Regions from separate parts of the Homo sapiens genome. Here regions 1, 3 and 4 are each linked to region 2. Evidence: promoter capture Hi-C in 16 types of primary human blood cells and fetal thymus (Javierre and others, 2016). All regions are on one chromosome and are shown on one strand. Each heading gives the region's core, a stretch centred on a gene start or on the middle of the fragment in contact. The rest is flanking DNA. Distances are from core to core; before and after follow the strand shown.

Region 1 (2,700 bases), core at 32-2,531, 160 kb before region 2:
TGAATGAAACAGAATAGAGAGCTCAGAAATAAAATACAATATTTTGAAAATATATTGAAAAGGTTCTCAACATTACTAATAATCAGAGAAATGCAAATCAAAACAATAGTGATATATCACCTCCTACCTGTTAGGATGGCTATTACAAAAAAATAGATGAGCATTGATAAGGATATAGAGAAACCGGAATCCTTTTACACTGTTGAGAATGTGAAATGGTGAGGCAACGCTGCAAAACAGTATGGAGGTTTCCCAAAAAATTACCTACTACATGATCCAGCAATACCACTACTAGGAATATATTCAAAAGAATAAAAATCAGAATCTTAAAGAAATATCTGCACTCCCATGTTCACTGTAGCATTATTCACAATGGCCAAGATATGAGAAAACACAAATGTCCATCAACAGATAAATAGATAAAGAAAATTTGGTGTATGTGTGTGTGTGTCTGTGAGAGAGAGAGAATTATTCAACTTTAAAAAACAAGTGTGTTCTGTCATTTGAAACAACATGGATAAACCTGAAGGACATTATGCTAAAAAAATAAAGCCAGTTACAGAGGACAAAAATTGCATGACCTCACTTATATGTGGAATCTAAAATAGACTCATAAAAGCAGAGAATAGAATGCTGATTGCCAAGAGTTCGGGGGGAGGGAAATGGGGAGTATATTCAATGGGTATAAGGTTTCAGTCATAAAGATAAGTAAATTCTAGAGATCCACTGTACAACATAAGAACCATAGGGCATAGCTATAGTTAAAAATACTGTATTATACACTTGAAAATGTGCTAAGAGGCTAGATCCATGTTACATGCTGTTACAAAACATAAGCAAATAGCAACAGCAACAACAAACAGGCATGAGGAAACTTGGAGGGGATGGGTATATCTATTACCTTGATTGTGGTGACAATTTTTTAAGTGTATGCAACTCATTAAATTATATATAATAAATTAATGCATTTAAAATATGTCAGTTATACCTCAGTGAAACTGTTTATAAAATAAATAGATAAATAAATATTCTTGTTTGCAGGTAGGGGAAATTGATAATTGAAATAAAAACCTTAACTTGCAAAACTGTTCTGCGGTTCACAAAACAAATAAACTGCACCAAATCATAGCATGCAAAACAAATTGGCCAAGCTCAAACTTTTTTTAACACCAGCTCATTCAGCTACATAGCTTCTTGAAGAGCAGACAGGTCTACTGATCTAACAACTCATCAGGAACCCATGATTTCTAAAGGTGAAACTCCTGACTGTGGCAGTAACTCACTTAGTTTATAAATTCTGACCAGTTCCTGCCAAGATCATCCTATTTTAACCCCAAACCCCTGTATCCTTTCTACCTCCCCACTTTTGGATGCCCTATGGTTCTCTATGGTTGCATTCTTCCTTGCTGCAGCAGGAAAAAACATCTAAATTTTTCCTCATGTATTTTGGTTTTTATATGTTTAAAATACAAATAGAAAAATAAAAGAAGAAGAAACCTTATAAATTTGAGTTGAAAAATAAAATTACATCTATATCTATGTGGGTATAGATATAGATATTGGTTTAGACCACTAAAAGATTCTTGAAGAAATAGCACTCTAATATTAATGAGTAAATCCAGCATCTATATTTTTGTTTGCAAATAATTTTTACCCACTTTAAGAAAAAGAAAACAAAGCAGTGCTCCTTGGAGAAATCTCAGGTTCCAGGAATAGGGAGAAAACACAAGGTGTGGCTGTGACATATTCCTGTGACAAGAAGCAAAAGCGCACTCAGAGATTAACAGGATCACATGAAAAAGGGACAGAAGCTAGCTTACAGACACTCGCTGCAGACAAATTCCGGACAATGGGAACATCACAAAGAATCATGACTATCAGTGATTATAATCACATAACCTGAGCAAGGTTCTAGATCCAGTTGCCAGTCTATGGCCAACAGAGGAGAAAGAAAAACAAGGCAAACTACACCATGTGGAAATAGGGAAGCAGATCCTGAGGGACATAAAAAAAACTGGTCTGCATTTTTGAGACCATCAATGTGACTTGAAAATGAATAATAATTTTTTAAACTAGCTTTCTGGATTGAATTCTAATAGATATGCAAATACAAAGTATAAACCTTGTTTTTATCCTGGTTCAAAACTATTAATATGTGTAAACCAAGTACCTACAAAAGTATCTTTAAAGACAAAAGGGAAATTTAAATATGGGCAGATTATTAAGTTATATTAGAGAATTATTATTATTACTAACTTTCCTAGGTATGCCAATAGCAATGTGTTTATTTAGGAAAATATACTCATCCTAAGAAGATGCATGCTGAAATATTTAATAATGAAGTATGACAAAGTCTTCAAATTACTTTTAAATGGTTCATCATAGAAAGTGTGCAGAGACAGAATAAGTTTGCCAAAATATTAACACATTTTTAATCCTGATCAAAGTTATGTGGGTGTTCATCGCTCTATTCTTTTTACTGTACTGTATGTTTAAAATATTTCTATTTACAATGTTGAAAGGGAGAAAAGAATTGTCCTACTGCACAAAGACATTCTTGCCGTGTTAAAAACATTTAAGAGGGGACCTGGCATGGTGTCTCACACCTGGAGGAAAAATAAAGCAACAGCAGAAAGGGCCCACAGGAACTCTCTCGTGCCCAGGATGAAGGTCAATCTGGACACCAGACAAGGACCGTCC
Region 2 (2,700 bases), core at 159-2,658:
TATGTATATTTTCTATGTGCATAGACATATTGCTATGTGCAATCATTATACATACAACTGTGAATTAACAATTTTTTTTGAGACAGTATCTCACTCTGTTGCCCAGGTTGGAGTGCAGTGGGACCACCATGGCTCATTGCAGCCTTGACCTCCTGGGCTCAGGTCATCCTCCCACCTCAGACTCCCAGGTAACTAGGACTATTATAACAGGCACATGCCATTATGCCCAGCTAATTTATTATTATTATTATTTGTAGAGATGGGGTTTCCCCATATTGCCCAGGCTGGTTTCCAATTCCTGGACTCAAGTGATCTGCCCACCTTGGCCTCCCAAAATGGTTGGATTGCAGGAGTGAGCCACCACACCCAGCCTAAATTTCTTCTTGATTAACATTTCCATGATTATCTGAAGTCAGTAACATTGGATTATCTGGAAAGGGGTGCCACTGGTGAAATTCAGGTGTTTCAAACACATTTACCTGGATTCAGTCATCCCTGTACTTTTTCTTCTTCTTCTTTTTTTTTTTTTTTAAGAGAGAGGGACTTCCTGACATTAAAAAATGGTAAGAGAAAAAAGCACCTGATTTCTTATTACTGGTCCTATTTAAAACTTGACTTAGCTTTATTTTCACTTTCAATATTGCTTATAGGAAATAAATGTTAAGTTTTGAATCAAAATCGGCACCAGTAATTTTACCTGATTAAGTGCCTAAAATTTTGTACTTATTAATTTGCAAATGTTTAATCAGACATTACTAAACAAATAGGAAGATCTAAGGGATAGGCACAAATGGGGAATCATTACCCATTTATTTCAGATAGATTTCCCAAACTCTGTTAACAAACTGGCTAGTCATTTTAGGAACTGAGTCCATTTTTCTGGTAGCCTGGGTAAGACTCCTAATTATAAATTATGCTTTTTATGGTCCAATCATCCTCCTGTCCTCCAAAAGATCCAGTTTCAATGAGATGTTTGTGTTTTGAAAGAGAAGTATTTACTTGCCACCACCGCACCTCTGGGCAACAACGTTAGAGGATACATAGATATCCATAGACACACACACAAACACACACATATTTTATGGTTAATGAAAAAATAAAGAAAAGAGATGAGAAACAGAAACATATAAGCATGTAAAAAAAAATAAAAGCAAACAAAAACTCAAATTTCTTCCCTGACAAAATTACCCCTGAGAGACAGGTAGATGAAACAACATTCATGTCTGCTGCTCTATATTCATTTTGGAGGCGAAAGATACCTAAGCTAAGGGTGGAAGAGGGACAAACAAACCTGAGTTTCAGGAGTCTGGTGTGGAGGAACCAGCACTTTCAAGCTCCTTTAGTTTCCTGTCTTGATAAACAGGAAAATCCCCAACAGTCAACTCCCCACAAAGTGCATGTCCTTTCAATTTCGGTTCTCACAGACTCTTACTTGGATGTCTGTAAATCCGGCTGGACTTTCAGCTTCTAAGAACAGTCCGTTTCTCGAGGATCCAGGCGCAGGAGGACAGAGCAATGGGTGAGAGAACTCTTCACGCTGCAGTGCCCACACCAGGTAAGTTTGCTCTTAAGCTTTACCTTTCAAGTATATTTGGGTTATAACAAACAACAACAAATTCCCAAGCGCAGACTGCACACGGGGAGGGTTGGAGACTTCACACTGGCGGGTGACAAAGGCAGTGGAGGAACCTCGCGGGGAAGTCTGATGCTGCTTGAACCCCTGAGTGCTTTGCTCCGTGTGGCCCAGCGTCTCTAGACGGTCCACAGGCGGCGACCAGAGGCGCACCGGTGTCTCCAGGATGCGCTGCTCCTCCTCGGGCTTCCTCCCAGAGCTGTGGCATTTTCTCCTGCGAAATACCATCATCTAGTATACATATACACATTTTTTGCTTGTTTGTTTTATTAATTTTCTGTCCCCCACTAGAATATGTGATACCCTACCTTGTTTTAACCTGAGTTGACTCTCCCTTAGCTGAAAGAGCCAGACAGTCTGCATCTCGGCTCCTTCACTTGCAGCCCCTTACCCACCCGCTTCCTCAGGGACTTAACTTGTGCAAGCTGACTCCCAGCACATCCAAGAATGCAATTAACTGATAAGGTACTGTGGCAAGCCATACCCGCAGTTCCCAGGAATTCGCCCGGTTAACAGCACCCAGAGCCCCCCGCGTTTGTGTCTGGTTGATAAAGCCCAAAGCCCCGCTTCTATCACCTTGTGATAGAATTAAAGCCCCTGCACCTAGTACTGTTTACTTTCCTGTAACCATTTATCCTTTTAACTTTTTGCCTACTTTACTTCTGTAGGATTGTTTTAACTAGACCCCTCCCCCCAACCTCTCCTTTCTAAACCAAAGTATAGAAGAAAATCTAGCCCCTTCTTCGGGCCGAGAGAATTTTGAGCACTAGCCGTCTCTCGGTCGCCGGCTAATAAAGGACTCCTGAATTCGTCTCAGAGTGTGGCGTTTCTCTGTAACTCGCTGGGTTACAACAAATAGAGCTCCAAGAGGCAGAAGTTTGTATCAATTATGTTCCTTGCTTGTTGCTGAGAATCTAGAACGGTGTTAATTAGCACATGGTAGGTACGCAATACTCTTTATTAAATTAATGAGAGAGCAAATTCTTCTGGAATGCCTGGAGCCTTTTCTAACCACTCCTCATCTCCTTTTTGTAACATCCTGCCCCTATTTATTCCAGGAGTGGAAT
Region 3 (2,700 bases), core at 124-2,623, 140 kb after region 2:
TCCCCCATCCCCACAGTTTTCTCCCTCCCACCATCCCTCTATCTGAGTCACTCTGATATTTGCTTTCTCAATGATGGCTTCATTCCCCAGCAGGCTCAGCCCATATGGGACCACAGCATTAACAGTTCCAAACTTAGAGCCCTTAATCTAAACAGGACAGAGACTCTCCTTTTCCCAGTATCTATATTAGCCTACTAAAAATGACTGCTAAGTAGGATGTTCTGATCGGCTTGCCAGGAGCATGTGTCTGTCGCTCCGACAGGGAATTTGACCACCAAGGACAATAGGGCCAAGAGAAAGAATTCCCAGAGGAGAAAGGATGGCAGGAAGACAAACAGGAACACCTGCTTACAGCCATTTCCTACTTCTCACTCTGTGTTCTCTGGGTCCTAAGGCTGAAGAGATTCTGCAGACATACTTGAAATCCAAGGAGTCTATGACTGATGCAATTCTCCAGACAGACCAGACTCTCACAGAAAAAGAAAAGGAGATTGAAGGTGAGGAGTGAGTTAAGAGATTAGATGGCCTCAAAAGCTCCAAAAATTGAAATAACTTGACTGGATAAACATGGGACCCTTTAACTAGAGCAAGATCCACAAAGGTGTGTCTTACTTGCCGAGGTCATCTCTGAGTAGGGCATATGCAGTCAGCAACAACGACAGGTAAGTGTATAAGGAAGAATGAGGCAACAAGATAACCCCACACAAATTTTTCTTCTGCCTTTTCCTCCTCAGTGGAACGTGTGAAAGCTGAGTCTGCACAGGCTTCAGCAAAAATGTTGCAGGAAATGCAAAGAAAGAATGAGCAGATGATGGAACAGAAGGAGAGGAGTTATCAGGAACACTTGAAACAACTGACTGAGAAGATGGAGAACGACAGGGTCCAGTTGCTGAAAGAGCAAGAGAGGACCCTCGCTCTTAAACTTCAGGTATCTAATTGCATCACCTTGAGGTTTCTGTTTTTCTGTTTTCTCTCCATTCTCCCTGATCGCAAACTTAGTGTGGCAGAGAGAACATGAAGCCCAGGGTAAGGACCCTGCTTGCTTACTTGTACTTTTCAATTCCTGTCTGTCCAGCCTGACTGGCTACTGCCAAGTCTGGTCACTGAAAGTTTTTTATTTGCAGTTGTGTAACATTCAGTCCTTTATCAATATATCCTTCATTTCAAGGAAGCTATTATCTGCTAGGCATCATTAAAATATCTGTATCTCGGTGGGGCATTGTGGCTCACGCCTGTAATCCCAGCACTCTGGGAGGCCAAGGCGGGCGGATCACGAGGTCAGGAGATTGAGGCCATCCTGGCTAACACGGTGAAATCCCGTCACTACTAAAAATACAAAAAATTTAGCTAGATGTGGTGGCGGGCACCTGTAGTCCCAGCTACTCAGGAAGCTGAGGCAGGAGAATGGAGTGAACCCAGGAGGCAGAGCTTGCAGTGAGCTGAGATCGCACCACTGCACTCCAGCCTGGGCAACAGAGCGAGACTCCAAAAAAAAAAATCTGTATCTCTTGCTTAATAACATATGTAGCAAGAACTATATCCTTATTACTTAGAAGAAGAAACAAAGGTTCCAAAAAGAATAAATAATTAAGTTCACACAGCTAGTAAATATATCAGAGCTGTCTTCATCACTTAGCGGAATCCACAATGATTATTTGTTTCTGTGACACCTACTATGAAATTAGATTTAAGAAACCTTTATGAGCAGAAAGGCTCCTAACCCTCACACCTGTGTGATACTCTGCTAATTCTGATTATTTTTAATGTCCTGCTCCCAGTTTGTTTTGAGTTGTGAGCTATGTGCAGAAACTCAGTATGGTCAGTCTGGCACTCAGATTTCTTACCTGTCTTCTGCTACCCCTGACACCAAGGTGTGGCAGCTTAGACCAAATTTCCTAATCCATGATTCATACACCTTATGAGATTTTGAGGATACTTTGCTTATTTCGGTGTTATGTCATATACATAATAGGGTAAGGAACATGGCTGTGCTTTGGTCAATGATAGGCCAAAGTATGACATTTACGTCTTGCGTGACTCAGAGAAAATTAAATAACAAATCATTTAATGTGGAAACCAGATAGAATGTTTCAATTTGCCTGATGCTACACTTTACTCAGCCTTCGTTTGTCCCTTTTTAGGAACAGGAGCAACTACTAAAAGAGGGATTTCAAAAAGAAAGCAGAATAATGAAAAATGAGATACAGGATCTCCAGACGAAAATGAGACGACGAAAGGCATGTACCATAAGCTAAAGACCAGAGCCTTCCTGTCACCCCTAACCAAGGCATAATTGAAACAATTTTAGAATTTGGAACAAGCGTCACTACATTTGATAATAATTAGATCTTGCATCATAACACCAAAAGTTTATAAAGGCATGTGGTACAATGATCAAAATCATGTTTTTTCTTAAAAAAAAAAAAAGACTGTAAATTGTGCAACAAAGATGCATTTACCTCTGTATCAACTCAGGAAATCTCATAAGCTGGTACCACTCAGGAGAAGTTTATTCTTCCAGATGACCAGCAGTAGACAAATGGATACTGAGCAGAGTCTTAGGTAAAAGTCTTGGGAAATATTTGGGCATTGGTCTGGCCAAGTCTACAATGTCCCAATATCAAGGACAACCACCCTAGCTTCTTAGTGAAGACAATGTACAGTTATCCGTTAGATCAAGACTACACGGTCTATGAGCAA
Region 4 (2,700 bases), core at 103-2,602, 140 kb before region 2:
GAGGAGGCCCTGCATCTTCAAGTTATTGATAGTGGCTTCTAGTCCTTTCCTAACCTCTGGTTTCAGGGGATATTGTTTCTCGTTAGGAAAGGAGGTGGGATTCTTAAGGTGGACCTGGACCAGTATGGTGGTTGTAGCTTAGCCAATCTTCCCTCAAGTTGCCCAAACTTCTGGGTTAATATTGGTTTGTACTATGGGGAGACAAAGAGTTTTCCCAGGGGCCATGAGGATGGTGGTCCCCATATGGGCCAGAATATCTCTTCTCAACAAAGGAGCTGGGCTTTCAGGCATAATTAGAAAAGCATGGGTGAACAAAAGGTCTCTCCAACTACAATTAAGTGGTTGGGAAAAATATCGGGTTAAAGGCTTTCCTGAGACACCCGTCATGGTCATGTTAAGAGAGAAGAGGGGGCCCAGATTAGAGAGGAGAAGCGAGAGACCAGCCCTGGTGTTCCAAAAGGAGGTCCAATTTCCTCCTTTCCATTTCTAGAATTCACCCAGGGTCCCTGGATGGTAATGGAGGTCTGGACCACTGGAGGTGGGGAGAGGAGCCCAGGGTCCCACCAGTCTTGCTGCTGGACCATTTGGGTGATTGGTTCTGGACCCAGTGACCAACATCCCTGGGGACAGTCCACCTTCCAGTTTCCCCCGATGCAGACTGGACAGGCTTGAGGTGGCTTCCTCATGCTGCCTGGGTAATCCTTGAAATGTCCTGGCTTTCTATATCTGTAGCAGTTAACAGGTGCACCCTGGGAATTATGGGGTTTCAGGGCTTTCGTGGTGGCCATTAAAGCCTCTGTCTCTTTCCTGTATTACCTCTCTCTCTGCTGGGCCTCCCTGTCTCTATTAAAAAAACATAGGTGGTCACTTTCAGGAGGTTCTCTAAATTCTATCTGGTCCCAGGGTCTGTTTCTGAAACTTCCTCCTGATATCGGGGAATGCCTGGGTAATAAATTTATCCTTCAAGATAAGTTGTCCTTCGGCCGAATCAGGAGATAGAAAGGTGTGCTTAGCATTTTTAGGAAGGCAGTGGGATTCTTATCAAATTCCTGGTCTATCATGCAGAACTTGGTATAATTGAAAAGCTTGGTCCTAGCCCTACATCAGCCCTCCATTATGCAGGCCTGAAAGTGCCTCCTCTTCCAGTCTCCCATCTCATCATTGGGATCCCATCCAGGGTCATCCACTGGTACTGCTTCTCTTCAGTTGAATAAAGTTTGCCGCCTTCCCTGATGCTATCCCCAAATCTCTCTGCTGCTTCTCTTCTCTCTGAGAAGCAGAGAGCACCCTGCTTCTCAGTATCTGTCAGGCTTTGGTTCAAAAGTAATAACGTCTTTCCAGGACAGTTCAAATACTTGGGTGAAATTCTGGAAAGCCTTTATGTATCTGTCAGGGTCATCTGAAAATTTGCCAAGATTCCCCTTCATTTGCCTTAAGTCCTGTAGAGACAAGGGGACTTGGACCTTACTGAGGCCGTATTCACTAGGCATCTGTTGTAGGGGCAGGAGTGAGACTGGGGCCTGTCTAGAGTGAGGATTTCTAGGAGGGGGCAAACAAGAGAGAGAAACTGGAGGGGGACGATGGGGTGGACCCAGAGGAGCAGGGCCAGAGAAAGCTTGTTCCCCTGCTAGACATGCCTCTGGGGTTTGTTCCTTTAGTTCCCTGGGATTGTCCCTTGGCAGCCTCTCCTGAGATGACAAACAGGAGGGCTGGATCAATCCTGCAATGTTGGCAAAGGTCCGAATTATACTGTAAGGTGAAGAAAGCCTGCACATAGAAAGCCTCAGACCATTTGCCCTTATGTTTACAGAAAAAATCCAGCTGCAGGATGGTGTCGAAATGAACGGCTCCTTCCTGAGACCAAGCCAGTCCATCCTGCAAATCAAAATTTTGCCAAACTTTTGTGCAAAGGACCATGAGGTATTTTTTCTCCAGAGTCTGAGGGTCAAAGCAGTCCCAATGATTCAGGATACACTTCAGAGGAGTATAGACTGATGATAGCTAGTTACCCATCTGAAAGAGAGAAAAATAAGCATTCCTTAATTCCTTTCTCTCTTTCAGCAAAAGCTCAGGGTGTGTGAGGGAGAGAGAGAAGAATGTCCCCTTTTCTCTTCCATCTTTTCATCCCCAAGTCCTGGTGACACAGACCTGGTGTGACCTGCACCCATGAAGCAGGGGGCCTAGAAGGCAGGAGTTATTTGCATTTACCTACACTGTCTATCCCCCTGGCTGTTGATAACCTTTGAGTTTCCTGGACCTCATTTATGCCATGGATACTAGCATGACCTCTATCCATGAAACAGGGGCTTAATTGGCAGGATTAGTTTTGCCCACCTAAGTTGTGCACGTATCTTCCATTGTTACCTGCTTTTGAATCCCTCGGACCTAGTTTTTGAATCCCTCAGACCTAGGACTTCAACCTGAAGCTTGGAATTGAATTTGGGACAAAAAGTTGTCTCAGGGGAGTGCATGGATTCCTTTAGATTAAGTCCCAGATGGCCCTTGCCAAATTTGCAGCCAGCCGCTGGTGGGATCACCCCTCTGTTTCATCCCTATGGTAAGCAGAGTGTTAAGGTAGGAAAAAGAAAACCCTCTCACATAGAAAAATTCCCTGTATTTGCAGGGCTATGACTTCCTGACATGGTGGAGAAAAGGAAAAATGAGACGGCTTAAGCATAAGTGTTGGCAGAGGTGCCTGGA

Evidence for each region. Contacts are between HindIII fragments. The CHiCAGO score rates a contact against its expected background, and 5 or more counts as called.
Region 1: a contact is called between a fragment that was not itself captured here and the fragment with the promoter of GBP4 in region 2, in 12 of 17 cell types (activated CD4 T cells, non-activated CD4 T cells, naive CD4 T cells and 9 more). The highest score is 26.8, in activated CD4 T cells.
Region 3: a fragment that was not itself captured here is called in contact with the fragment with the promoter of GBP4 in region 2 in 2 of 17 cell types (activated CD4 T cells and naive B cells); the score reaches 7.4 in activated CD4 T cells.
Region 4: a contact is called between a fragment that was not itself captured here and the fragment with the promoter of GBP4 in region 2, in 6 of 17 cell types (activated CD4 T cells, non-activated CD4 T cells, naive CD8 T cells and 3 more). The highest score is 10.8, in activated CD4 T cells.

What each region holds. Positions count from the first base shown.
Region 1 is chr1:89,358,847-89,361,546 of GRCh38, reverse strand. No RefSeq gene overlaps it. Among named protein-coding and RNA genes, the nearest start is that of GBP6, 3.9 kb to the left of the region's middle. The HindIII fragment of the contact is 3,000 bases long and covers 1-2,700 here.
Region 2 is chr1:89,197,650-89,200,349 of GRCh38, reverse strand. GBP4 (guanylate binding protein 4) reads left to right here and starts at 1,408. Exons shown (of 11, transcript NM_052941.5): 1 at 1,408-1,555. The coding sequence starts at 1,516. LOC107985076 (a long non-coding RNA gene) reads right to left here and starts at 2,003. Exons shown (of 3, transcript XR_002958332.2): 1 at 1,942-2,003; 2 at 1,292-1,847. RefSeq lists a silencer at 1,310-1,604. The HindIII fragment of the contact is 3,654 bases long and covers 1-1,574 here.
Region 3 is chr1:89,052,910-89,055,609 of GRCh38, reverse strand. It overlaps GBP1 (guanylate binding protein 1), which reads left to right. Exons shown (of 11, transcript NM_002053.3): 9 at 395-497; 10 at 735-928; 11 at 2,142-2,700. The coding sequence ends at 2,255. The region is part of intron 2 of LOC105378841 (a long non-coding RNA gene); the gene reads right to left. Among named protein-coding and RNA genes, the nearest start is that of GBP1, 11 kb to the left of the region's middle. The HindIII fragment of the contact is 3,413 bases long and covers 1-2,700 here.
Region 4 is chr1:89,338,226-89,340,925 of GRCh38, reverse strand. No RefSeq gene overlaps it. Among named protein-coding and RNA genes, the nearest start is that of GBP6, 24 kb to the left of the region's middle. The HindIII fragment of the contact is 530 bases long and covers 1,088-1,617 here.